Regions from separate parts of the Homo sapiens genome. Here all the other regions are linked to region 2. Evidence: promoter capture Hi-C in 16 types of primary human blood cells and fetal thymus (Javierre and others, 2016). All regions are on one chromosome and are shown on one strand. The core of a region is centred on a gene start or on the middle of the fragment in contact, and the rest is flanking DNA. Distances in the headings are between cores, read along the strand shown.

Region 1 (4,252 bases), core at 943-3,442, 240 kb before region 2:
CTTACTGGAGACTAAATGTAGTGGAAAATCCTTGAATATCATTTTGTATTTGAAATTGGCTTCTCAATGCATAATGAGAAAAAGGCCCTTGCAGAAAACAAAGGGCGATTTTGGAGGAGCTGAGCTGAGGCCCGTCTGAGCATCATCATCTTCAAGAGGAAATGCTGTCAATCAGTAAAAAGCTGTTCATTGAGCATGAGGAGCTCAAGAGACGACCTCTCTTTTGGGGGAGGACTCAGCTTCAGGATGTTTAAAATTTAATCACGTTAGTAAGAAAATGGAAAGAAAAGACTAGACCTTTGTATTTTATTTCGTCTTCTACTGCCGTCTTGCAGTTGATCTTCCGCCTTCTCCTGAAGTAGTTAGGACAACTCCCTGTTTTCACAGAGGGGCAGAGCGAAAGCAAGTATCTTCTGTCATTGCTGAAGCAGGACGGCTCCCGGCAAAGATGCTGGGCTTCATCCAGCCCCATTCTAAGCAGCTGGGCCTCCCCACCTGCAGTCTTCCTGGATTTTGATTTTCTGCACACTTGGGCTTCCCACTAATTTGGCAAGTTCATACCAGTCCAGGCCCTTTCCTGGCAGAGGATGGCATTCAGTGCTGGTGCAGCCACTCCTCCAGGCTCCTCCCTGAATAAACAGAGGCCGGATGTTCTGGAGTGCTGTTCCCGCCAGGCCTCCTTGGGATGAGAGGGAGACCTTCCTCCCTCATGGAGCAGGGCCGCTCTAGCTCCATGGATCTTGGGGGTTACCAGTCTGGCACTCTCCAGGGAGTCCTGTTAAGAACACAGATTGTGGCTGTGTCTCATCGCCTCCCTGCCCCAACCCCATGTTCAAATCTGAATTGCTCAGTGTAGGGCCCAGAAAACTATTAAGTCCAGAAAGCTTTTTTGGTGGTTCTGATTCTGCTGCACTGGCAGTGGGAGCCACGGATGGCCAGTGATCCCATTTTGGGGAGGAGGAGCTGCGGCTTAGTGCCTCCTGAACATCTATCCTGCAGAGCATTTTCCCAAGCCTCCATTTTCCTTCTTGGGGAAACTCCCCAGGTACGCGGGCTTCTGGAGGTGTGAATATGGGGATGACATGGGAAGCGAGCCGAGACAGCACCTTGCAAAGTCTGGCAGGGTGGCTGGCAGTGCGAGAGTGGGGAGGTGGTCCAGAGATCTTCCTGGACCCCAGGAAGAAGCAAGCCAGAGCCTTTTCTTTTTGTCTTGCCCATCTGGCAGAATCTCACCATAATCATTTAACAGATTATACTCAGGCACTGTGACAGGGAGATAGAAACATCCTTTCAGATAACACTGGAAATGTTTCGAGTTATGATTGAAGTAGAGAGACCCATTTATTTTGCTTAAGGTTCAGCAGAGCCTCCTGAATTTTCTTAAAGATGAGATCGTTTTGCTCTTTCCAGATCTATTGCAAGCTGTTATGCCTCTTAGCAGAGGCGGAGCACAATCAGGAAATGAGTGGCCGTTCTCTCCTTCGTATTTCCAGCAAGTTGCAGTTGTGGCTGAGCAAGTTCCTGTGCGACTGCATGAAAGTGATTTGTTGGGGGGCAGATGAACAGCATGGCCAGATGCCTTGGAGCCCAGCTCATCCAGGACTTTCATTTTCCCCTCTGAAGAACAGCCTGTGTTGTTCACATGAGAACCGACTGCACCTCCGAGAACATCATTTGTCCCGTTTTGTAGGGTAGATTTGCCCTTTATGAGGGTGGAGCCTGTACACAGGACCTGCGGCAGCGTTTGACGTTGGCCAGGGCTGGGAAGGCTTAACTGTTGGATGCTATCAGGGCTGCTTGTGAGTCAGAAAGCTTCATACCACCCATGAGGCTTGCTTAGTGCTGTCCTCGTTTCTGGAATGACACACAGTCACCTTATATAAACCACTCTACATGTTTATTACTTTCTATTGACATTTAAAAATGATGTTCTGATGTTTATCATCCAAAGTAGAAAACCATTCATCATCCAGACCTACTCTTTCTCCTTTAAGTTTTGCTGTTTTAATATTGCTCTTAAATGTTTAAGAGAGCTTACAGAAGAAACTGAAGACAAAGGCCTTGCTTATTAGGATCTTTGAGACCCTCTGGCACTGGCGAACACGAGTGAACCCTGTGTCACACTTGACCGTGTTATTCTCCAGCCCCTCCTGGGTTCCCTTTTGTTGTGAGTCAAGTAGACACCTCTGATCTGCTTCTGCCTCAGAGCATAGACTCAGCTGGCCTTCTTTTTTTTTTTTTTTTTTTTGAGACGGAGTCGCACTTTGTCTCCCAGGCTGGGGTGCCGTAGTGCGATCTTGGCTCACTGCAACCTCCGTCTCCTGGGTTCAAGCGATTCTCCTGCCTCAGCCTCCCAAGTAGCTAGGATTATAGGTGAGCGCCACCATGCCCATCAGCCGGCCGTCTGAGGCAGGCTCCAGAGCCCCTTGTTTTGCAGGTGCAGGATTCATCTGTATGCATCATGTGGCACATGTGATACCATGTGAGGTATCTGGTGTTACTAAGTCGTCACGTATTTCGATGAAGGTATCTTTGGGACCTTGGCAGCCTTTTAGGAAGCCAGGCAGCTTGCAAAAGCTTAGGAAGAATTTGGGGGGAGAGGAATGAATGTAGTATTTTTCTGTCTGTCAACACACACACATATATATATATATGTGCCAGATATGAGTGGGTGCTTTTGGTAACCTTATCTCTAAATCCTCACCAGCTCTTTGAACTAGAAACTATGAAGTGTCTTACACATGGGACAGCAGATTTGGAGAGGCAGTGTGCCTGGCCTGTGATAAACAGAAAGACTTCTGTGGCTTTACCCCCATCTGAGTTCCTGAAGGGGTGACAGACAGACTTGCCTTTAGCGGGCCTGGCTGCTTTATACTCCCCAGGCACGGCTGCTTTATACTCCCCAGGCACAGCTTGAGGTGATAAACAGCCCTGAGTCCATCTTTGTATAGTTAATCAGAAATGTTGGCCTGTTTCTTGAACCTGGGTCTGGATTTAGGAGATGGGCCCGACTCTTTACTCACTCCTTTACCCCATCTGAAATTCACTGAGTGCCCACAGTGTGCGAGTCACAGTGTTAAATGCCATATAGAGGACAAGTCTGCCCACTTTGAGACTGTTCTCCACAAAGCATGTCCTGCCTCTCCCTGGTCCGAAGCAGGCTGTCTCTCTTCTGGAACCCATATTATTTTAATTTGAATCTTTTTGCTTAAGCTCTGCACTTTTCTGCTTTGTCTTGGGGTCACACCCCTGTTAGGAGTTCTGGGGCAGAGTCTGTGTGCTTCATCGCTGCCTCTTGATGCCTGGCAGGGTCCACAGGCTCAGAAAAGATGGAACGAGTGACTGTGGAGAAGGGTAGAACATGGGCCTGCCCAGAGCGCGAAGGCAGATACAGAAGAGCTGCCCGTGAAGGATGCAGGTGTGTCCCGGGAAGCCTTCCATTGGTTCCTAAGAACTGCAGAGTTGTCCTGGGCTCCTAAAGGTCCCCAGAGGCCTGCTCCTTTTTGTCACTTTGTGAATGGCCTTCTCTGCACAAAGGACTTCAGTATTGATTCCCTAAGTTCATCCTTACAGGTCTGGAGAAGCTCTTTTTTGTTTCTCCCAATGACACAGCATCTTACAGCAGGGCTGGAGAGGCTGGGAGCTGGCAGCAGCCAGACCCTACTTCCATAGCTGTGCAGAGAGCAGCCCCTGGCACTGTGAAAAGAGTCTCTTAAAAATTTTTTTTCGTGTGGCTGGCAGCAAGATCAGACACCGTATACGTGAAGGTTCTTATTCACTGTCAATTCAGAAAAGCCTAGAATCGCAGAGTGCCAGCTCTGTGCGTCAGGAGCCTGTAAACAGCTCAGCTGTCCAAGAGCTCCCAGCACAGAGCTGTGCCCCAGTGAACTGGGGAGACTTTTTACGGAAAATTCCTTAGCATTCAATTGGAGAACAAACGTTTGCTGTTTTAAAGTATCTTCCTCAGTGTTTATTAAAGTAGAATTATATATTTTTTTCAGTTATTTAAAAAATTCTTCCTTGACATTGAATGAATGAATAAATGAATGGATGGTTTAAAAATTCATACAGTGGGAGGATGGGAAGGCCCCTTCATGTGCAGAAGAAAAGCCAGCCCCTTCGCTGGCCCACCCTTTCAGGGTCAGTTCAGACCCCCAGCATCCCAGCGGGGTTAGCACTCCTTCCTGGGTTGGACGGTGTCTTCCCCGGTTCTGACAGCGCTCCATGCCGGGCGTCCCTGCAGTCTTGGGGC
Region 2 (4,287 bases), core at 1,737-4,236:
AAATAGACTCTTTGGCAGCAGTGACCCTCCAAAACCACCGAGGCCTAGACCTCCTCACTGCTGAGAAAGGAGGACTTTGCACCTTCTTAGGGGAAGAGTGTTGCTTTTACACTAACCAGTCAGGGATAGGATGAGGTGCCGCCTGGTGTTTACAGGAAAAGGCTTCTGAAATCAGACAACGCCTTTCAAACTCTTATATCAACCTCTGGAGTTGGGCGATATGGCATTTCCCCTTTCTAGGTCCTGTGATGGCCATCTTGCTATTATTCACCTTCGGGCCCTGTATTTTTAACCTCCTTGTCAAATTTGTTTCCTCTAGGATTGAGGCCATCAAGCTACAGATGGTCTTACAAATGGAACCCCAATGAGCTCAACTAACAACTTCTACTGAGGACCCCTGCACCAACCCGCTGGCCCTTTGACTGGCATAAAGAGTTCCCCTCTGGAGGACACTACAACTGCAGGGCTCCTTCTTCAACCCATCCAGCAGGAAGTAGCTACAGAGGTCATTGCCCAATTCCCAACAGCTCTTGGGGTGTCCTCTTTAGAGGGGGGATTGAGAGGTGAAGCCAGCTAGACTTCCTGGGTTGAGTAGGGACTTGGAGAACTTTTCTGTCTAGCTAGAGGATTGTAAATGCACCAATCAGTGCTCTGTGTCTAGCTGAAGGACTGTAAATGCACCAATCAGCACTCTGTAAAAACACACCAATCAGTGCTCTGTGTCTAGCTAGAAGATTGTAAATGCACCAATCAGCACTCTGTAAAAATGCACCAATCAACACTCTGTGTCTAGCTAAAGGATTGTAAATGCACCAATCAGCATTCTTTACAATGGACCAATCAGCGCTCTGTAAAATGGACCAAGCAGCAGGATGAGGGCAGTGACAAATAAATAAATAAAAGCTGGCCACCCGAGCCAGCAGCAGCAACCCAGTCAGGTCCCCTTCCACGCTACGGAAGCTTTGTTCTTTCGCTCTTCACAATAAATCTTGCTGCTGCTCACTCTGGGTCTGTGCCACCTTGAAGAGCTGTAACACTCACCACAAAGGTCCGCGGCTTCATTCTTGAAGTCAGTGAGGCCAAGAACCCACCGGAAGGAACCAACTCCGGACACATGACCACTGAGAACTGTCTTCTCAAGGACCTGGGGGTTTGTCTCTTGAATTGCAAGCCTTCAAGGAGGTGGTTCTCATTCTCATTCCCAGTCCCTGTGGCTACCTTGCTCTCTTACACCACTGCTTGTCATGAAGACAGAAAAATTATGTCTCCTCTGGATAAGCATGGATTAACACACCCAGATGGCCTAGTTGCAGGACGAACCAACCCTTCACACTCCTCAGCACCTTTCCCTTAGCACACCACAGCCTCTAAAAAGCCTCCAAATTTTTGTTTCAGCAAAGTTGTGTTCAGTTCATGCTGGACCCAATTCCCTAGCAATAGTTTTCATTAAATAAAATCTAATTTACTGCTTTAACGAGTGTCCCACTTAAAAAATTTTTCTTGACAGTAAGCACATGAAATCGTTATTGAATTAATAAACTTAGGTTCTATATATGTGTAAACAGCTGAGCAGAGTTTCATTATTTTGAGCGTTCTTTTGGTATCTCCTCTCCCAACCTCCAAGAAGCTGAAATATGGCTTAAGTTATATTTTCCTTCAAAATCTCTAACTATGAAAGATGACAATTATGTCCAAGTTATCCACAGTACCTCCTGGATTGAAGTAAGTCAGCTTACTGTGGATATAGAAAGCTATCTAAAATGTCAGATCTCTAATTTCAATGCCCTGGTTTCTTTTTTTTTCTTTTTTTTTTTTTTAAGGAGACAGGGTCTCGCTGCACAGTGAGTGGCAAGATCAGGGTTAATTTGGCCTCAAGCAATATTCCCGCCTCAGCCTCCTGAGTAGCTGGCAATATAGGTGCTATGCCACCAAGCCCGGCTAATTTTTGTATTTTTAGTAGAGACGGGGTTTCACCATGTTGGCCAGGTTGGTCTCAACCTTCTGGGCTCAAGCTATCCTCCCGCTCTGCCTCACAAAGTGCTGGGATTGCAGGCCTGCGCCATGGCGTCTGGTTTGATTTCTCTTTTAAATATTTTTTTTGGCCAGGCGTGGTGGTTCATGCCTATAATCCCAGCAGTTTGGGAGGCCAAGGCGGGCAGATCACGAGGTCAGGAGATTGAGACCATCCTGGCCAACCCGGTGAAACCTCGTCTTTACTAAAAATACAAAAAATTAGCCAGGCGTGGTGGCGGACGCCTGTAGTCCCAGCTACTCGGAGGCTGAGGCAGGAGAATCGCTTGAACCCGGGAGGCGGAGATTGCAATGAGCCCAGACTGCACCGCTGCACTCCAGCCTGGGCGACACAGCAGACTTGTCTCAAAACAAAAAACAAAACCAACCAAAAAAACAAAAAACAAATGCAAAACAAAAAACAACAAAAATAAAACGAAATATTTTTTTCTCCCTATGGATTAAACACTTAAAAAATGTTTTACCACTTCTATTTCTGGGTCAACCACAATGTTCGGTTCCATCCAGAAAGACAAGTGGGTTTTGGAGAGGGTGTTTGGTTCCGCCTAGCATGCGAATTCCCATTCCCGCACAACGCTCTTCCTCCCTTCCTCCTTCCGGTAGCGTCCAGCAGGATTCCGCTGTTCCTCCAAAATCTTTGTCAGGAGAGCCATCCTGACGGTACCTTTAGGAAGCCCATAGATACCCGCCACAACCTGTGACTTTCAGGGTCAATTGCGTCTCAATTCGCACGTCTATCCAGAACCTGCGGGGACCACGTCCCCATCCTCCCGCCCGGCCTCCGCCTCCGAGGGTGTCACGTGCTAGACGCGGGCGTGAAGACAGTGTCGCCATGTTGATATCTGGCGTCGCCGTGTAGGGGAAGGGAGAGGGCGGCTGACTAGCTACCCGTAATTTCGGCTCCTGTGCGCAAGTGCGGAAGTGCGCTGGCCAGGAGCGTGATCGGTTTCCGGTCAGTGGTGTGGTACCGGGTACCCGGAGACGTGTATCGGACGGTGGGCCGCAGCCATGGCCGAGAGAAAACCTAACGGTGGCAGCGGCGGCGCCTCCACTTCCTCATCGGGCACTAACTTACTTTTCTCCTCCTCGGCCACGGAGTTCAGCTTCAATGTGCCCTTCATCCCAGTCACCCAGGCCTCCGCTTCTCCGGCCTCCCTGCTCTTACCGGGAGGTAATAAGGGGAGGGCGGCCCCGTGTGTGGTGGGAGGCGGGCGGGGGACGTGCAATGACAAAGGTCAGACGGGAGTTTTTCCTTCTGCCTCGAGCTACCCTCTGGATAGCTTGCCAGGATCATTACTGGCCAGGTTTGAGTGGGTCGGGGGCTTTGGGATCTTGGAGGTGGCAGGTGATGAGACTTGCTCTTCACGGAAACCCCCTGTTCCGAGTTGTCCAGAGTGCTGGACATTCATTCGTACCCTGGCATTCCGCAAATCTTTGCTGAATACCCGTTGTTGGTACGCCAGGTGCTGGCAGGAAATGCAAATAAATTAAACAGTGGCCCTCTCCTAGGGTACAGTAGTCTGTCTCCCACTAGGAGACTCCTAGGATACGGTAAGATACCTCCTAGGATGGACTGTGCCCCTCTCCTAGGATACGGTACACTGTCTCCTACTAGGAGATTGTTGTGATACAGTACAATATCTTCTAGGTTACAGTAAGATATCTTATAAGATGGACTGTGCCCCTCTTCTAGAAGCCTGTAATATTTGTGAAGTAGACATATACAATGCATTCCTTATCTTTTTTTTTTTTTTTTTTTTTTTGAGACGGAGTCTTGCTCTGTCGCCCAGGCTGGAATGCAGTGGCGCGATCTCGGCTCACTGCAGCCTCCACCTTCCAGGTTCAAGTGATTCTCCTGCCTCAGCCTCCCGAGTAGCTGGGACTACAGGCGTCTGCCACCATGCCTGGCTAATTTTTGTATTTGTAGTAGAGACAGGGTTCCACCATGTTGGCCAGGATGGTCTCAATCTCCTGACCTCAAGTGATCCGCCTGCCCTGGCCTCCCAAAGTGCTGGGATTACAGGTTTAACCCCCCACCCATTCCTCATCTTTCAAGACAATACATCACTTCTTCCAAGAAGCTGTTTCTTGTTCTCTTAGGCCCCCACTCCTATGTGCACTCCTAGCTCTTTTTTCATATTTGTATTATTGTCCAGGGAGATTGCTTTTTGATGATTATGTAGCATTGCCCAGAGCATAGTGTTTAAGAGCACAGACTGTCTGTATTCCAGTCCTTGCCCTGCCAGTAACTTGCTG
Region 3 (4,168 bases), core at 232-2,731, 150 kb before region 2:
CTGGGATTACAGGTATGCGCTACCATGCCCGGCTAGTTTTTGTATTTTTAGTAGAGATGGGGTTTCACCATGTTGGTCAGCCTGGTCTTGAACTCCTGACCTGTGATCCGCCCGCCTTGGCCTCCCAAAGTGCTGGGATTACATGTGTGAGCCACCGTGCCCGACCAGGCTCATTACTGTTTATTCAAGTTTTTCCACAGTTGGCCTTAGTTTACTTTTCTAGCATTATCAATTCATATCTCCAGTGTACCTACTGGTCTTCTGTTATTTACACTGTTTGCTTCATTATTTTTGTATCATCTTAACGTGATACAGTGTCTGGTTCCTGGCAAGTACTTGATATGTGTTTCTCCAATGATGGGACACATACCAGAACAAATCTTGTACTTTTTTGTCTGCTGTATTATTTTTCTTGCTGCTGTCCTTATGCCTGATGCGCCACTTCTTCTACATGACTCTCCGTGACTGCTTTAACTCTGTTTTTTCCTTCCTTTTCTGTATTCCTAAAGCTTATTTGGTACCCAAGGGTTAGAGTCCTACAACTGTGGTCTGTTCATCTAAGGTCAAGGTGGTAGGGTTCTGGGTAGCTGGAGCTCTTTCCTTAGCAGGGGCATCTGTGTTGGCAGATGTTGAGACATGGTCTGCCTGATACAGGGATTCTGGCTCACTATTTGGAAAGAAATCAGGGTATCTTTATTCCACTGGCATTAGGGTTAAGTAGTTAACAACTAACAGAGATGAAATCAGTAAATACGGTAACTGATACTAAGGAACAGCTTTGTAAGCCAAAAGATATAAAAATTAAAAACTGAAAATATTTGCAAACATGTCAAAGAGTTGAAGTCCTTAATGTGAAAGGAACTTGTAAGTCAATGAAAGATATAAAGAAAAATTAGGAGGCATGAACAAGAAAATCATAGAAGATGACATGACATATAAGCAGCCAAATTTTTTTTTTTTTTTTTTGAGACAGAGTCTTGCTCTGTCGCCCAGGCTGCAGTTGAGTGCAGTGATGTAATCTCAGCTCACGGCAACCTCTACTTCCCGGATTCAAGCGATTCTTGTGCCTCAGCCTCCCAAGTAGCTGGGATTATAGGCGTGTGCCAACACGTTCAGCTAATTTTTGTATTTTTAGTAGAGATGGGGTTTCTCCATGTTGGCCAGGCTGGTCTCGAACTCCTGACCTCAAGTGATCCTCCTGCCTCGGCCTTCCGAAGTGCTGGGATTATAGGCATGAGCCACCATGCCCGGCCATAAGCAGCCAATTTTATAATTAAGTGTTTAATCTTATCAGCAATAGAAAGGAAATAAACATCATGTTAGGCAATAGATGCCAGATGCCATCAAATTAGCAAAATTAGATAAATTCTAAATTTTTAACTCAAAATTATTAATTTTTTTTTTTTGAGACAGAATCTTGCTCTGTCCCCCAGGCTGGAGTGCAGTGGTATGATCTCAGTTCACTGCAGCCTCCACTCCTGGTTCAAGCAATTCTCATGCCTCAGCCTCCCAAGAAGCTGGGATTACAGGCACGCACCACCACGCCCAGCTAATTTTTTGTGTATTTTTAGTAGAGATGGGGTTTTACCATGTTGGCCAGGCTGAACTCCTGGCCTCAAGCAATCCACCCAGCTTGGCCTCCCAAAGTGTTGGGGTTACAGGCATGAGCCACTGTGCCTGGCCTTGCTTTAAAAAAAAATTTTTTTTAATTCAAAAAAGAAATTCATATGCTTCTGGCAGAAATCTAACTTGGTATGTAACCTTTGTAGCAAACAATTTGGTATTATTTGAGAAGTTTACATTTTTAAGGTTTTAACCTATTAATTTAATTCCCAGGAATCTATCCAAAAGCTATTAATTAGAGAGGCAAATATTTGCATAATATTCATCATTTATCACAGTGTTTTTTATGATGGGGGAAAAACTTCAAATCACTTAAATGTTTTCTTTGAGGAAGTACTTCCTTAAGTGGAAAATTGTGTCACCATGAAGTTATAATCTTGAAGAATATTTTAAAGAAGAAAATACTCATGAAATTTTAGAAAAACTATGTTAGAAATGTTAGAAAAAATTACTTAAAAAACTATAATGTCATGGGATCCTTAGGGTGTTGCTTTTCCACCTGGACACTTCTGTGGCCAGTGGCGATTTTGCCTGAGTTTTCCTCGGGTCCACTGGGCTTTTTCCACTGTCTTGGCTCGGCAAGCTGTGCTGGGCTTGCACTACCAGCCCGGATCCCATGCCTGCCAATGGCAAGCCAGGTGCGGAGTGGCGAGTGGTGTATGAGCGAGCGTGCACGGTCCAGACACTATGCACAGCCAGGTGTGCCAGCCGTGGCAGGGCAGGCAGCTCCAGGCACCGGTACAGGCACTGGCTTTGTGCAAGGCTGTGGCTGGACCAGGTGTACCACAAGCAGTTTCTGCTGCAGGTACTGGGGAATGCAGTGATGCCCGGAAGCTTGGAGATGCCAGGAACTGCAGAGCCCCACTGTCACAGCCCTGGCTCGGAGAGCCCCTAGGTCTGGTGTTCCCGAAGGGCCGCAGCCCTTTCCTCCTTGTTGCCCACAACCTGGTGAGCAGGGGGCGTGTTTTGGTCCTGTTTGTGTTACAGCTTTTTCAGTCCCACCATTCAGGGGTCCCGTGTCCAGGAAGAATGAGGTATGCAAGGTATGTGGACAACTGGAGGGGGAGCAAGGCAGAGAGCAGCTTCATTGAGCCCCAGAAGAGCTCTCAGGAGACCTGAAGTGGGTAGCTCCTTTTTGCAGGCAGGTCATCCAATGAGGAGACCCGAAGGGGGCAGCTCCCTCCCGCAGCTGGTGGTCTGGACATCTGTGAGTCTGGCTGAGTCCGGGATTTTTAATGGGCTCAGAATGGAGGAAGTGTGTGCTGATTGGTCCATGGGAGGCCACGGACGGCCTGGAGAAAGCACCCTGAGTTCTTACTCCAGCTCACGGACTCCACCCGGAACCTGCAGCTCAGACCCCAGGCTTCAGGTTGTCCCTGGCTTGAAGGTGGGGTTTTACCTGTGATCTGCCCCTTTCTGGACAGGAACCTGTGTCTGTCTCCCTCCACTGCCCAGGCTGTTTGGGCTGAGGGGTGCCTGCAGGCCCACTTGGAGCTGCCCTCACCCCTGCTGGCCTCTCTCCCACGCTTATCGGCACCCGAAGTCCAGAGGGGGCTGAGGCGGCAGGGAGCTGGTGTGACAGCAGTGTCCAAGCCTGTGCACACCCGACTCGGTCGTGACGGTCCCCAGGCTCGGCCACAACTTGCTCTGCACCAGAGCAGGTGCTGGGAGCAGGGAGAGAGGCCAGGGAGTGGGAGCAGGCACTTCCGAGCCTGTGGGGAAAGAGGGTCTTCCCGGGTAGCTGAGAGTACAGGAATGCCCAGGTCTGGAGCCTCTGCTGGCTGCAGCTGTGCCAGGAGCCCCGCCAACTTGGTAGGGGGCAGCGCTCCCGCTTGTTTTCTGCCCTGCTGGCTCCATGGAGGGCGCAGCCCTGGCCGCGCCTCCCCGGATGCATCCAGACAGGCTGCGGCTGCCATCAATAATGCTTATTTATTAGCGCTGCAGTTTGGTATGTATACAAACAAATGCCCTGAAATGTAGCTGAAGAAGTTGTCTCTGGGTGGTGGGATAGGTGATGATTTTTTTTCTTTGATTTTATAGTACATGTTATTTAAAAATCACTGCCTTACTGATTAGTTCCACGTATAATTTCTGAAGGGGACACTGTAACAGAAAGGTTTAGAGCAGGGGCTAAGCGTCAGGCTGACCTGGTTTTTGGTAGCAGCCTTGATCCGATCCATTGTATGACCTGACCATGTTTTACTTTTCTCAGCATTTGTTTCCTCATCTGTAAAGTGAGACTCCTTAAACTTAACTCAGAGTTGTCAAGATTAGAAATGATAATGTATTATAATAGCCTTTAAAAAATAAATTTCTTATTTTGCTTTAATTCTTGCAATAAAAACAGTATCGCACTGTTGCCTGGGCTGGAGTGCCGTGGTGCGATCTTGGCTCGCTGCAACCTTCACCTCCTAGGTTCAAGTGATTCTCCTGCCTCAGCCTCCTGAGTAGCTGGGACTACAGGCGCGTGCCACCATGCCTGGCTAATTTTTGTAGAGATGAGGTTTCACCATGTGGGCCAGCTGGTCTCGAACTCCTGACCTCA

Evidence for each region. Contacts are between HindIII fragments. The CHiCAGO score rates a contact against its expected background, and 5 or more counts as called.
Region 1: a fragment that was not itself captured here is called in contact with the fragment with the promoter of SEC23IP in region 2 in 1 of 17 cell types (activated CD4 T cells); the score reaches 6.2 in activated CD4 T cells.
Region 3: a fragment that was not itself captured here is called in contact with the fragment with the promoter of SEC23IP in region 2 in 1 of 17 cell types (neutrophils); the score reaches 5.1 in neutrophils.

The regions. Positions count from the first base shown.
Region 1 is chr10:119,654,151-119,658,402 of GRCh38, forward strand. All of the region lies in intron 1 of BAG3 (BAG cochaperone 3), which reads left to right. Among named protein-coding and RNA genes, the nearest start is that of BAG3, 4.9 kb to the left of the region's middle. The HindIII fragment of the contact is 765 bases long and covers 1,811-2,575 here.
Region 2 is chr10:119,889,744-119,894,030 of GRCh38, forward strand. It overlaps SEC23IP (SEC23 interacting protein), which reads left to right and starts at 2,987. Exons shown (of 19, transcript NM_007190.4): 1 at 2,987-3,202. The coding sequence starts at 3,040. RefSeq lists enhancers at 1,702-2,213, 2,214-2,724, 2,725-3,235. The HindIII fragment of the contact is 6,362 bases long and covers 959-4,287 here.
Region 3 is chr10:119,745,836-119,750,003 of GRCh38, forward strand. The region is part of intron 1 of INPP5F (inositol polyphosphate-5-phosphatase F); the gene reads left to right. Among named protein-coding and RNA genes, the nearest start is that of INPP5F, 22 kb to the left of the region's middle. RefSeq lists a silencer at 2,222-2,516. The HindIII fragment of the contact is 1,948 bases long and covers 508-2,455 here.